Linked DNA regions of Homo sapiens: region 2 is linked to region 1. The links are contacts of gene promoters, found by promoter capture Hi-C in blood cells and fetal thymus (Javierre and others, 2016). All regions are on one chromosome and are shown on one strand. Each heading gives the region's core, a stretch centred on a gene start or on the middle of the fragment in contact. The rest is flanking DNA. Distances are from core to core; before and after follow the strand shown.

What was found. Contacts are between HindIII fragments. The CHiCAGO score rates a contact against its expected background, and 5 or more counts as called.
Region 2: the fragment with the promoter of ZDHHC14 here is called in contact with the fragment with the promoter of LINC02901 in region 1 in 1 of 17 cell types (activated CD4 T cells); the score reaches 8.4 in activated CD4 T cells.

Annotation. Positions count from the first base shown.
Region 1 is chr6:158,865,280-158,872,933 of GRCh38, forward strand. LINC02901 (long intergenic non-protein coding RNA 2901) reads left to right here and starts at 4,535. Exons shown (of 3, transcript NR_160980.1): 1 at 4,535-4,698. RefSeq lists enhancers at 3,509-4,181, 4,182-4,854, 4,755-4,924, 4,855-5,528 and a silencer at 4,355-4,674. The HindIII fragment of the contact is 6,622 bases long and covers 3,111-7,654 here.
Region 2 is chr6:157,378,718-157,385,395 of GRCh38, forward strand. ZDHHC14 (zDHHC palmitoyltransferase 14) reads left to right here and starts at 2,473. Exons shown (of 9, transcript NM_024630.3): 1 at 2,473-3,549. The coding sequence starts at 3,305. LOC124901446 reads right to left here and starts at 2,374. Exons shown (of 1, transcript XM_047419644.1): 1 at 597-2,374. The coding sequence starts at 1,984. The coding sequence ends at 1,094. RefSeq lists enhancers at 797-1,409, 2,021-2,632, 3,391-3,530 and silencers at 1,611-1,690, 1,851-2,740, 3,251-3,300. The HindIII fragment of the contact is 8,143 bases long and covers 1,159-6,678 here.

The DNA of each region.
Region 1 (7,654 bases), core at 3,285-5,784:
ATTAGCTCTCAGCTGCCTTATTTGCTTATTCATCTCTCACTCCACTAGACTGCAAGCCCTTCCATAGCAGGAAACATGAACTACTCCTATTTATTCCTATGTACATGCTTGGGACATAGAAAGCAAGAATTATTTGTTGAACGACTGGATGGATGAATGAATGCTTCAAAAGAGCCATTTAAAATGTAGATTCTCATTGAATGCTCAGGTTTCAGGGTGATGGCTGTGTTCACTTGTTTAGCAATAGTAGAGGACATTTTCACTACCTGCTAGCGTTTGGCTCCTCAGTTTTGTTTAATAGAAGATGTAGTATTGGGGCAACAGTAATGAGTTAGAGAACAGGCAGGTTTTCAACAGCAGCCCTTTATTGCAGCAAAAATTTATTGCAGCAAAAGATAATCTGAGCCAACCACAACCTAAATCACTGTTGCTGGCAATGACAGGAGTTAAAAGGAGAATCAAAATGATTATGTTGAACCACTCTGGCATCCGGCATCTATTACAGTGCATCCTCAGTTCATGTTACTATTTTTGTAGCTAATAACATCAGTTTTTTCAATAATTGATCTTACATATTTAATATATATGTTAATTTCACATTACTTAGATACAAGTGCTATGAAAGATTGCTAAGTCTAAAAGCAGAAGTGAATGTGGTCTAAAAAAGTGAGTTTGATGAATTTCTTTTCTATTGAGCTGGCTGCTCATTTGACTAAATCAACTAATCCACACAGGTGTTTGGGTGTCAAGTACGTGTTGCCTAAGTCATATTCTTTTGAGCTAGAAAAGTTGTTCCACTTAATTTCAAACCATTTTGTTAATACTTTCCAAATTTCTGGAAATCTGCTCATTTAAAACTTACTTGGATGTCTAATGGTTTGCAAATTTTGTATTTTAGCAGTAGTATCCACCACTACCCTGATGTGCAACACACACTGCACATTTTACAACTTTATACTTGAAGACTTAAAAGTCTCCCTTTGACTGATTAGCGGTGTTGAAAATGATGGGTCATGTCTATGATGCAAAATCAATTGACAAAAAATACTGAATGGCTTTAAAAGGGAAAAGCATCTCTGAATTATGTTTGTAAAGGAACATCTTTAATTTTTCTTAAATTCTACTTTCTGTTCTTAGTTTTTTGTCTTTTTTTCTTTTTCTTTTTTATTTAGAGATGGGGTCTCACTGCATTGCTCAGGCTGGTCTGAAACTCCTGGCTTCAAGTAATCCTCCCACCTTGGCCTCCCAAAGTACTGGCATTACAGGCATGAGCTACTGTGCCCAGCCCAATGTTTTGCTTTTCAATAAACTTTGTTTTCTTTTTTATTTATTTAGTCTTACCAGACCAAATTATTTTCATTAAGAGTTATGGTCAGAGTTGGAGCTTGGGAGCAGTAAGAAGGAACAGGTTATAATAATAAAAATACTATTTCCCTAATACTTGTTTGTAAACCATGCTTTTTGTTTTTGTTTTTCAACATACCCATTTTTCTCAATAGGCTATATTGCTGAAAAGTTTTCAGAAAGTTCTATTAAAAAATAACCAAAGTCTTACACTTAATAGATTTTTAGTAACTTTGTTAAATGAATGTCAGACACAAAGCTAATGCTAGTATTTGGAAGTGATGTCGTTGAAGTTTTGATAAGGACATTTAAAGTTATGGATGATAATTAAGTCTTACTGTAAATTACTACCTGACTATGAAACTTAGTACAGTCAATGTAGCTCTGTAAGAGAAATAATAAAGATAGAATAGTCATGACTAGGTGCTTTTCTTCTTAATCATTCACGGGAAGGAGCAAAAAAGATAATGAACATTTTTTTGAATACCTATTTGTGCCACTCAATAATTCAGGAACTTCAGAGATCTCAGTTAATCCTTTCAGCCAAACAGGTTACAAATAAAGAATCTGAGGTTCATAAAAGTTTGGAAATTCATACAACTTCAGAGAGACGGGTTGGGGGATGGTGGGACTGGGGATTAAACCCAAGCCTGCCTGGCTCCAAGGCAGTTTCCACTGCAGGGTCTACTGTATTTGGAATTTCTATCAGGTAGTTCTGGTAGCTTTTTGGAAGAAAGTGTAGAAGAAAGTTTGAAAGTCATTCTTATGATCGGTTTGCTTCCTGGTTCCTAACCAACCAAGTGGATCTAAGTGAGGCCACTTTGTAAACAGGTCGTTCTCCAAATTGATGAACACAGCAGAATCTGAGACATTTTCAGAAACTTTGTACTGCAGATTTAATATGGTCTGTTGCTCAGGGGAAGCGGAGATTGTTGAGACTGTAGGCACCCTTATTTTCCCTCTCACATAGCAATCTTTTTTTTTTTCTTAAGACAAGGTCTCGCTCTGTCACCCAGGATGGAGTGCTGCGGTGTGATCACAGCTCACTGCAGCCTGAACCTCCTGGGCTAAAGTGATCTTTCCACCTCAGCCTCCCAAATAGTGGGGATTACAGGTGTGAGCAACCACGCCCCACAGTAGCAATCCTTTTCTTAAACCAGCAGCAGGACAAATGTCTTCCTGAAGATTTGTAACACCTGGTAGTGATCCCAACTCCTTCTGGGCCCGCTTAAGACTAAGTTTCTGGTTAGGAAAGAAGAAACTGCAGAGCTTAGTAGTTAAGGGCACACAGGAGTCAGACAACCTTGGGTGTGAATCCCGGCACTGCCATGGTACTAATGTGTTGCATGAGTCATGTTGAGAGGTGAGGCCAGCTGGACTTCCTGGGTCCAGTGGGGACTTGGGGAACTTTCCTGTCTTACAAGAGGATTGTAAAACGCACCAATCAGCAGGATTCTAAAAGTAGCCAGTCACGGGAAGGATTGAAAAAGAGGGCACTCTGATAGGATAGAAATGGAACATGGGTGGGGACAATAAGGGAATAAAAGCTGGCCACCCCAGCCAGCAGCGGCATCCCACTTGGGTCCTCCTCCATGCTGTGGAAGCTTTTTCGCTCTTCACAATAAACCTTGCTACTGCTCACTCTTTGGGTCCCGGCCATCTTTAAGAGCTGTAACACTCACCGCGAAGGTCTGTGGCTTCATTCTTGAAGTCACTGAGACCACGAACCCACTGGCAGGAACCAAGTCCAGACACAATGTTATGCAAGCTTTCTAGACCCTTTCTGTAAAATGGGTATAATAATAGTATCTAAGTCATGGGGATTTTGTGAGGATTAAATGAAATGCCTGTTAAGCATTTAAAATGCCTGGCACATTGAAAGTTCTTTTTGGAGACAAGTCTTGCTCTGCCGCCCAGGCTGGAGTGCAGTGACATGATCTCTGCTCACTGCAGCCTCTGCCTCCTGGGTTCAAGCAATTCGGTGCCTCAGCCCTGAGTAGCTGGGATTACAGGCATGCGCCAACACGCCCACCCAATTTTTGTATTTTTAGTAGAGATGGGGTTTCACCATGTTGGCCAGGGTGGTCTGGAACTCCTGACCTCAGGTTATCCTCCTGCCTCGACCTCCCAAAGTGCTAGGATTACAGGTGTGAACCACTGCCTTTGGGCCAAAAGTACTTAATTCTTATTGATGTCCACATTCAACAATTACTAGGTTTGTTTTTTCTGCATCCAGCTGCAAATGATCTTCAAAGTTGTGAACTCAGGAAATCTCAGAGGCGTTTATAGGCTTTCCAACCAGAGATGATATTTGTAATTCAAAGAAGTAAATAGAAATCCTTAAGAGAACCCCTTTCAAGCTAAGTTCCCATCTAATATGGAGTGGTGGCTTCGAATGATCCTTTTGGCTTATCTTTTTAAGTGTAAGAATTTTTGATGAATCACACTTCGTACCTATTTGGTCACTTTCACCAAAGTACAAAACCAGTCTGCCACCAGAAGAAATTTAATAACCTTGAGACTCAGAGAAGCAATGCTGCCTGATTGGTGGACAGCCAGACCAGTGAGGGTCAGACGTGGCTCTTCGGCTCCGGACACGGGAATGTGGTGGAAATGAGATCCTCCAGCGATTCTAAGGAGTGTTTTGTTCTTCTGGCTTAAGAGAAGGGCAGAGGACAGAACCAAGGGGAAAGAGAGACAGGCCCAGCCATTGTCTGACGTGAGGCACGATAACACATTAGAGGGCTGGTTTAGCAAAGGGCAAGGTAGAGTTGGCATTAGACGCGCTTGCAAAGGGAGGCGGGCAAGAGCTTCAAGACGCGAATGACACTTGAGCAGCCTGGGCTCACGTCTGGTAAGGTTTACGCCGCCTGTTCCCGCCATCTGGCAACTCCCTCCCAGAAGGGTGAGTTTGGTTCTTGGCAAATCCCCTTCGGACACACAAGCTCTTTTATTAAAATATAACCCCACTAACAGATTGCAGACTAGGCACAGAAGCCCCAAAGCACCCCCAGAGACCGCAGCAGTCCCGCCCCGCCGCCCCCGGATCCGCGCGGCTGCCAGAAGCTCCCCTCCCCCAGATCTTGGCCCCTCCCTGAGGCGCGCGAGCGTGTCGTCGCCCGCTCCCGGCCAATCAGGGCGCGCGACCAAAATAGCGCCATATAAAAGCTGGATGGCGGGCGCGGCCGGTGCAGAGCCTCGCGCTGGGGTGGGGTTGCGCGCGCAGGTGAGGGGGGCGGGGCCGGCGCGACCGGCGGGGCGGGGCGGACACTCCCACCGCGCACCTGCTTCTGCCTGACGTGTACCCGGAAGGTCGTCAGCTCAGGCTCCAAATATGTAACAGTGAGTTTCTAAGTGAGTCACACGGACGCGGTTGGTTTCCAGTGAGGCATAACTCATCGCTTCACTCTTCTCAACGGTTCCCTCTTCGGAAGGAAGCGCAGTCCGCAGCGTCGTCCGAGGGCGTGATCGCCTGCGTCGCACCCGCGTCTCCAGTGGCCACCCCTTGTCCTACAGGAACGCGCATCTGCTTAGCAGGCGCTGAGCCCTTGAGGAGGCCTAAAATGAATGAACGCGGCTGTGCCTCCTGAGCAGGCTCACAGTTGTGGGTGGGGGACAGAAGGGTGTCCATGCCTAAGGTCGACGGCGATAAGACAGACGTTCTTCCCAGGAGGAGATCAGTTCCAGGTGGGAGGCATTTCTAGGAGTCACCTTTCTCCGAGGAAGTGACCTGAGCTGTAGGAGGTGGAATCACAAAGGCTTTGGTGCCCTACACACCTGGGTTTTAGCCTCAGCTTGAGTCACTCACCCAGTCTGTGACGCTGAACACATCAGGAAACCTCAAACTTTCCCCATCTTTAAGATGCAGATAATAGCCGGTCACCATGGCGTGTGCTTGTAATGGCAGCTACTCGGGAGGCTGAGGCAGGAGGATCTCTTGAACCTGGGAGGTGGAGGTTGCAGTAAGCCGAGATCGTGCCACTCACTCCAGCCTGGGCAACAGAGCGAGACTCCATCTCAATAAATAAATAAATAACACTACATGACTGATAGCATATTTTTGAGGAGCATCTCTCCCCCTCCGTGCTTGGGTTTAATCCCCCCTTCCTCTCTCCCTCCCTCCCTTCCTCCCTTCTTTCTTCCTTCGTTACGTTTCTCTTCATTTCTTTTTTTCTCCATCATTCCTTCATTTTTCTTATTTTTTCCTAACTGATATAATTTACACACAATAAATCGCACAGAAATTAAGAGGACAGCTGGGTGAAGTTTTACATATGTATACACATGTCATTAGCCCCTAGGTCAAGATCTAGAACATTTCCATCACCCCAGGTTTCCAACTGCTCCTTCCGGTCAGTAGTACTTCCCCAGAGGTAACCACTATTCATTTGGACTTAAATTACCAAGTATGAGTTGTGTCTACTCTTAAACTTCATGTAATTGCAATCAAGCATTATGCTTTATTCCAAACTTGTCCAACCCGCACAGGCCACGGTTTTGAATGTGGCCCAACACAAATTTGTAAACTTTCTTAAAACATTGCGAGATTTTTTGTGACTTTATTTATTTATTTATTTTTTTGAGACAGAGTCTCTGTTGCCCAGGCTGGAGTGCAGTGGTGTGATCTCGGCTTACTGTAACCACCGCTTCCCAGGTTCAAGCGATTCTCATGCCTCAACCTCCCGAGTAGCTGAGATTACAGGCTGGTGCCACCACACCTGGCTAATTTTTGTATTTTTAGTAGAGATGGGGTTTCACCATATTGGGCAGGCCGGTCTCAAACTCCCGACCTCAGGTGATCTGACCACCTCGGCCTCCCAAAGTGCTGGGATTACAGGCATCAGCCACCGCGCCCCGCCATGTGATTTTTTTTTTTTTTTTTTAGCCCATCAGCTATTGTTAATTTTAGTGTATTTTATGTGTGGCCCAAGGCAATTCTTCCAGTGTGGCCCAGGGAAGCCAAAAGATTGGACACCTTTGCATTTCTGTTTTTTTTCACCCACCGTAGTGTCTGTAAGATTCCTCCATGTTATCACACGTATCAGTAGTTTGAAGTTTGTTTATTACTGAATAGTATTCTATTGCATGAATATACTTAAGTTAACTTATCCTTTTTACCATTGATGTGTATGTGGGTTGTTTTCAGTTTTTGGCTATTATGCATAAAGCTGCTCTGAACATTCATGTAGTATGATGAATAATTGATTTTAGTAGGATATATACCTATAAAAGGAATTTTTGTGTCATAGGATGATAGGTGTATATTTAGTTTTAGTAGACACTGCTGGCAGTTTCCCAAAAGGATTGAATCAATTTTTGAAAATTGGCTGGCCGCAGCAGCTCACGCCTGTAATCCCAGCACTTTGGGAGGCCGAGGCAGGTGGATCACGAGGTCAGGAGTTCGAGACCAGCCTGGCCAATATGGTGATTCTCCATCTCTACTAAAAAAAAAAAAAAAAAAAAAAAATTAGCTGGGCATGGTGGCGTACGCCTGTAGTCCCAGCTACTTGGGAGGCGTAGGCAGAAGACTCTCCTGAGCTCAGGAGGCAGAGGTTGCAGTGAGCTGGGATCATGCCAATGCACTCCAGCCTGGGTGACAGAGCGAGACTACATCTCAAAAAAAAAAAAAAAAAAAAAAAAAAGGACTGGTCGAGGTGGCTCACGCCTGTGATCCCAGCACTTTGGGAGTCCAAGGCAGACAGATCACCTGAGGTTGGAAGTTCGAGACCAGTCTGACCAACATGGAGAAACCGCGTCTCTACTAAAAATACAAAATTAGCTGGCCATGGTGGCGCATGCCTGTAATCCCAGCTAGCTACTCGGGAGGCTGGGGCAGGAGAATCGCTTGAACCTGGGAAGTGGAGGTTGCGGTAAGCCGAGATCATGCCATTGCACTCCATCCAGCCTGGGCAACAAGAGTGAAACTCCATCTCAAAAAAAAAAAAAAAGAAAAGAAGAAAAGAAAATTATAGTTACTTCACATCCTTGCCAACAATTGGTGTTAACAGTCTTAAATTTTTGATGGTTATGCAGCAGTATTTCCTAGTGGTTTTTTTTTTTTTTTTTTTTGAGACAGAATTCTGTCACCCAGGCTGGAGTGCAATGGCACGATATTGGCTCACTGCAACCTCTGCCTCCCGGGTTCAAGCAATTCTCCTGTCTCAGCCTCCTGAGAAGCTGGGATTACCGGCATGCGCCACCATACCCGGCTAATTTTTGTATTTTTAGTAGAGACGGGGTTTCACCGTGTTGGCAAAGCTGGTTTTGAACTCCTAACCTCAGGTGATCTGCTCACCTCGGCCTCCCAAAG
Region 2 (6,678 bases), core at 1,223-3,722, 1.5 Mb before region 1:
ATAAGTGGCTGTGCTCGGAAAGCCCAAGTGACAATGAAGTCCAGGTAACCTCTAGGAATTGCAGGTTCCCTCTTGGAGCTGAGGACAGTCTCCAGTCTCCAGCCAGCAAGAAGCCAGGGCCCTCGGTCCTACTGCTGCAAGGAAAGGAATTTTGCCTGTGCCCGGAGTCAGAGTGGAAGCCAGTTCTTCTCCAGTGAATGTGAACGCAGCCTGGCCAGCCCCTTGATGGCAGGCGTGAGACCCTAAGTGGGGGACTGAGTGTACCTGGACACCTGATCCATAAAAACTGTGAGAAAAATCTGTCTTGTTTTAAGGCCACTACGTTTGTGGCAATTTGCAGCAATAAATAATTAAGTACAAGTACATGTCACCCAAGGTCAACTATTTTCAACAGTTTCCAATTGTTTCATTTATACCTCCATGTCTGGAGCTGGGTGGGTGGGAGGAGGGGAGTGGATGGGCTGGTGTGTTTTAAAGCACATTTCAGACTTTATATTATTTCGCTGGCAGATACTTTAGTACATATCTCTAACAGACAAGGAAGGACTTTTTAAAAGCATAACCATAATGCCAGAAAAATTCGGTTTCATTGAGAATAAGAGTGGGAGTCTTTTTTAATGCCATCAAATCAATGGATCTATTATATTAATTGGACACCCACAGAAAAGGTGCTTGCAATAAACAGAATAAGAATAATACCCCGTTGATCTCATTAGCTAAAGGACAGGAAAGCATATGAGAGCTTTCACTTGAAATGTATGAAGCTTTCCAGTTGGTTTTTTAAAACTAGTCCAGCCACAAATACTTAATTGTCCCTGTAATATGCTTGTCTCTCATACAATATCTAAAATAATTAAAACCCAATTATTATCGTGTGCTTAAGATCCATTCTCCCTAGACTCTAACCGGCTTTGGAATGGACCCCTGTAAATTTCACTTGTATTCAAAACTCCTTGTAATTGCATGTCATACTCTAATTGCTATTCCCATCACTTTTTCCTTACCACAGCTCCTCCCAACTGGCCCTCTTGGATAAGCCAATCTCATCCCCCTTCGACACTCCTCACTGAGGCACGCTTTGTAAGGGACATACTTAGGGCTCTGGGTTCGATGCCATCTCTACTACTTGGGAGCTTTGTGATGTTTGGCCAGTAGTTAAGCTTTCTCTAAGCTGGATACAATAATGCCTCACCGGGTTCCGGCGAAGATTAGACAAAGAACATGTGTAACGTGCAAACTGCCCAGTACAGAGAAGGCACCGTTCCCCACAACCCCCTTTGTTGGTTCCCATCTCCCACCACCTAGCCCCAGAACGCCCAGCACCACGCCTCTCCTGCCCTTGTCGCGGGGGATGCAGGGACTTGTAGTTTCTAAGGCCCCGAGTCGTGCTTCTCCTCGGCGCAGGCCTGCGGGCGGAAGAACTACACATCCCAGTGGGCTGTGAAAGGAAAGTGGGGCTCGGGAAATTGAGCATCCCTGCCCAGCTGCCTTCGTTTTCTGCGGCCCCGGGGCTATGCCCACCTCTGCGGGGGCTCGGACCCGCGGCAACGCCTGGGAGGGCGCGAGCGAGCAGAAGCCCCAGGCTCCGGCCGTCCCAGGGCCGCGCCCGCAGCTCCTCCTGGGCTGTCGGGTGGGAAGGGGGGAGGCGCAGGCGGGAGAGGAGAAGCACGCGACCCCTCCGCTGCCGAGGGGGCTCCACGGGGGAATGGAGGGAGAAATAAAGCGAGCAGCTGTAAACGTCCGTGGGGAGAAGTGGAGACCGAAAGAGCTGGGCGGCAGCAACCCAAAACCTGGCCTCCAAGGGCTTATACTCCGGGAGGGAGGCCGGGGCCGGAGGGGACCCTGACCGCTTCCTCTGCCCTTCTTTCTCGGCCCGGAAGCCGGCCGAGCCGGGCCCCGAGACCCTCGCCCGCAGCCCGGTCCCGAAGTCAGGCCGGCCTAGGGCCGCCCCACCCCATCCTGGCACCCGGCACCCCCAGCCCATTTCTCGGGCATCACCAGAGTCCCCGGGCGACGCGACCACGCGCCCAGCTGGGGAGGAGGAAGAAGGGAGGCGCAGGCCGGGGAGGGTCACCTCCGCGCCGCGGCTCCTCAGGTCCCGGGGAGTCGCCAGGAGTGGCTTGCCGGTGGCCGTGGGAATGAGCGTGTCCCGAGGCGGCAGCTGCTGCGCGGGATAAACCCGGAAGAAGCCGCGAGACGGACTGAAGTCGGCCAGGAGCGCACTGCGCGGCGGGGCCGCGGGCGCCCGACCCCATCCCTACTTGGGCGATGCCACAGGGAGCCCCGCGCCTTCCACACCCCAGGGCGCCCGCCCGAGGGGGCTGGGGCTGGAATCTCGCTGCGCCGGTGCCCTGGCTTCGCGGGCGAGGAGGAGGAGGAGCAGGAGGAGGAGCCGCGGGTGAGGCGCGAGGCCACCGCCCACCCGGCCCGGAGGAGGCGGACCCACTCGGAGCGCCGCGCGCGCGCCGGGCTGAGCCTTGCAAACAAGTGTCTGTGCTGTGTCCCCGCGGCCCTCCTCGCGCCGGGGCCGCTTCCTCCGGGTAGGAGGGAGCAAGGGAGCCCTCGCCGCGCGGCCCGCGAGCCGCCGCCGCCCTCGGCCCGCGCATCCCCGCGCGGGGGCCGCGGATTCGACTAGGCTGCCAGGCGCAGCGACACCGGGTCGCGGTGCGAGCGGCGCCCCGGCTCTCGCCGAGAGGCTCCTGACAGAAAAACGTGCGTGGTTGTCCCCACCCCTGGGAGGGGTTGCCGGTGCCGCGCGCGGCCGCCCAGTCGCCAGCGCTCTCTCCTGGGAGGATCCGCTGCCGGAGGAAGGAGTGGACCCAACCTGGCCGCGCCGCAGAAGTGGCTCCCGAGGAAGCCGGCGCCGGGGCCGCCGCCTCGTGTCCCCTCGGGGCGCAGTGCTCGGGGGTCGGCGGGCCAGAGCCGAGGCGCGGCCGGGGAGCCGGGGGCTGCGGGGCCGAGCGGGCAGCCGCGCGAGGGGGCGGGCGCTCGGCGACCCGGGGGCCGGCCGGGCTGAGCCCCGCGCCCCGGGACGCGGGCTGGAAGCGACGGAGGAGTGCTGCCGCGGGCTGCGGACCAGCGCCGTCCCCTCACGGAGCGGGGATTCTGCTATGACAGTTGGGCTCCCCGGAGGGTTAACCTGGGTGTCCTCGGCAAAGTTGTCGCCGAGCCGGGAGCCCGTGTAGGGGCCGCGGCGCCGCGGCTCGGGGGGCGGCCGGGCGGCCGGCGGCGGTCGTGGCTCGGCGGGGCCCGCGCGGCCGGGGGGCTCCTGGGGGTGTGCGCCCCCAGCCGGCTGCCCTCGTGGATGCCTCCCGGCGGCGGCGGGCCCATGAAAGACTGCGAGTACAGCCAGATCAGCACCCACAGCTCCTCCCCCATGGAGTCGCCCCACAAGAAGAAGAAAATCGCGGCCCGGAGGAAATGGGAGGTGTTCCCGGGAAGAAACAAGTTCTTCTGTAACGGGAGGATCATGATGGCCCGGCAGACGGGCGTCTTCTACCTGACGCTCGTCCTCATCCTGGTCACTAGCGGACTCTTCTTCGCCTTCGAGTAAGTGGTGGCGACCGCTCCCCCGACGCCGCACTCCCCTGGTCTCCCCTGTCCCCCGCCCCTCCTCGGGCTGCTTTCGTTTTCTAGAAGTCTTATCTACTGTAAATTGTTATATAATGCCAGTCTGCGCTCCCTCTTTTTTCTTTTAAAGGTCTGATTGCTTTTGGGCCCCCGGAAAGAACGCCGTTCTGGGCTGGGCTTCTGGGAGCAGGGAGGGAAGGGGTCCACTTGCAAGGGGGGCCAGGCCTTGCCAATCCAGGTGGCGGATGGGACCCAGCAGGTGGGGCCGCCGGTCCCTGATCCTTGGGGCGCTCTCTACCGAGTTTGGGGACCCAGCAAATCAGCCCAGATGTAGCCTGCCGTGGGAAGGTGGGGTGCGATAGATTCCTAAGTCAGGGATACATGGAACTGACTTTTTCCCCCTTGCTGACAACATATAGGGCATCTTCTTAAGCTCAGTTGACTGAATCTCCCATGTAACTTCGACGAATAATTGAGGAATCTTGGCTATTTCAGGTTTCAAAGTGTCGGCTGCCTAGTGTGCCCTGGATAGATCATTGCATTCTCCAGCCTCCTACATGCTCACTCTGGATTAACAATTTCTTATTTGCCATGAGGTTTCTAAACTCTTCACTTTCAAAAAGGTTGCAATAAAAGGTGTCCAAAACAAACAATTTGGGAACATGTGAAAGGAGACCTTAGGTCTGTTAAGGAAGAGGATGACACTACGTGACAACTTCCGATTCCAGAAACAGTCTGGACTTCAGGGATTATATCTGGGGGGATAAAAAGCGCATGCAAGTCTTCACCGTTTTCAGGAAAATCAAATTGGCCAGTAGCAACTGTCCTCCTGCCAACTAATGAAAGGTCTTCTTATTTATTAGCAGTGATTAGATAAAGCAGTTAAACCACATTCCAATCAATTTTGGTTGCTTTTTTTGCATCCAACATTTGGAATGCAACTCCTTATGTAATTTCTGGTATCCTATGTTCAATGAAAGGTGGAGTTACTTTTTTCCCCTCAGAATTTAAAGAAAGCAATATATTTATAGGGAGCTCTTCTTTGGGCTTCCCAAATCCTGGTTATTATTGGGCTTGATACTCCTTCAGTCTCCGCCTCCTCCTGTTGGGTAGGCTCAATTAAAACCTTTTGAATTTATTTACTTTTGTTTCTGATTAGGATTAATAGGCTCTAATTTTGTGCCTGGCTTTTGCTCTTCCAAATGCTGTCTCAATTGGAAATGAATGATCTCTTGACAACGTAATACTTGTCGCTCAAAGCCCTCTGACTCTCAGGAGAAACGTTTTGTATCTGGACACTGTGCGCTGATTAGCAGTTTTAAGAGGACTGAGTTAGACCAGGCGATGAGAAGGATCTCTGATTTAAGCGAATTCCCCTTCCCCAGTCCTTCTCACACACAACTCCTCTTCCCCATTTCCGATGGTATGTGCAGTTCCCGGGTCCCCCTTGATGTTTAGGTTCTGTGTCTGTTTGACACTAGTAGGTAGAGTCAGTGGGGAGACCTGTGGACGGGAGGGGAAGGGTGTGAACAGGCATTCAGAGTGGCAGGGAGACACACTCTACTCATGCTGCTGTTGCTCCCATGGGCCCCCATTGAGAGCAGCCTCTTGTCCTTACAGACCTTGGAAACTGGAAGAAGGGGCATAGAGGTTCCCCATGAGTTTACGTTATCTGTTAGGATGAACACTGGCACTGGAAGCGTGATGCCATGTGGTTTAACAGAAATGCCATCTCTCTAATGGTGAATTTAGTTACAGGTGGTCCTCTAGTTGCAGAGTATTAACTGTGTTCCTACAGTTTTTTAAAAAAAATCTTGAACAGATCCAAATTGGCACTTTTGCTCTTTTTAGCGATTTTAACTGTGGAGAAAATGGGTTAATTTTGTGATTCTGTTGCAGAGCTTCAGCCACAAGTGTGCTCCATGGAGGATGATGAATATTTCATTTTCTGTATATACCCAAGTCCCCACTGTATGCTTAGGGATCCCCCCAGTTATTACTTAACATCTTTTATTTTCTTCATTCAAACATAGCTTCTAACCAAACCATCATAAATTCATTTTCGTTTCTTGATCTCTGCGTGTGTTTTTTCAAGAGTTCCCAAAAGTCCTCACTAGCAGGTTGTTAAGGATCTTTCTCTGTGTCAGTGTTATGTTAACTGATGACTGTAGGAATAAATGTGTGCGCCGGGATTTTATTAGCTGCTATTTGCAGCATCTTTTTTATATCAGCTCTGTGGGAGCGTATGTGTGTATATGTGTGTGTGTTTGCTCTCCATGGTTGTTGCTTCAACTAGGCAATTTGACATTTCAAGAAAACAAGAGGCCCATCCTAGTATGATGCCTCTGTTTGGAAAAATCAGAGGCTATTCGAGCTACAGAATATTATGGTTTAGCTGAGAATATTTGTCACTGTATTGCTTTCAAATTCTTTATTCATAAATTAAATAACCAATTTGACCAAATTAATTTGCTAGAGACCAAAGAACAAGTTAACCCCATACAGAGGAAGAAAATACCAACAGGCCAATCCCTAAGCGAGATCCAGAGGAAATGCCAGTACTGCCTGCCCCTGGCCTGCCTTTCTCCTGCCTTCCTCTAGTTATGTGGTCCTCTATTTTGATTGTTTAATTTCATGTCTAGATAGCTTTTTTAAAAATTTATTTTTAATTTTTTATAGAGATGGAGTCTGCCTATGTTCCCCAGGCTGGTCTTGAACTTCTGGCCTCAAGTGATCCTCCCGCCTTGGCCTCCCAAAGTGCTGGGATTATAGGTGTGAGCCACTGCACCTGGCCATCATGTCTAGATAGCTTTTTATTGGAGACAGAGTCTCACTGTGTTGTCCAGGCTGGAGTGCAGTGGCACAATCATGGCTCACTGTAGCCTTGACCGCCGAGGCTCAAGCAATCCTCCCTTCTCAGTCTCCTTAGTAACTGGAACTGTAGGCATGCACCACCACACCCAGCCAAGTTTTGTATTTTTTGTAGAGACATAGGGGTCTCACTATGTTGCTCACTATGATCCTGGGCTCAAGCGATCTCCTGCTTTGGCCTCCCAAAGTGCTGAGATTATAGGCATGAGCCACCGCACCTGGCTATCATGTCTAGAT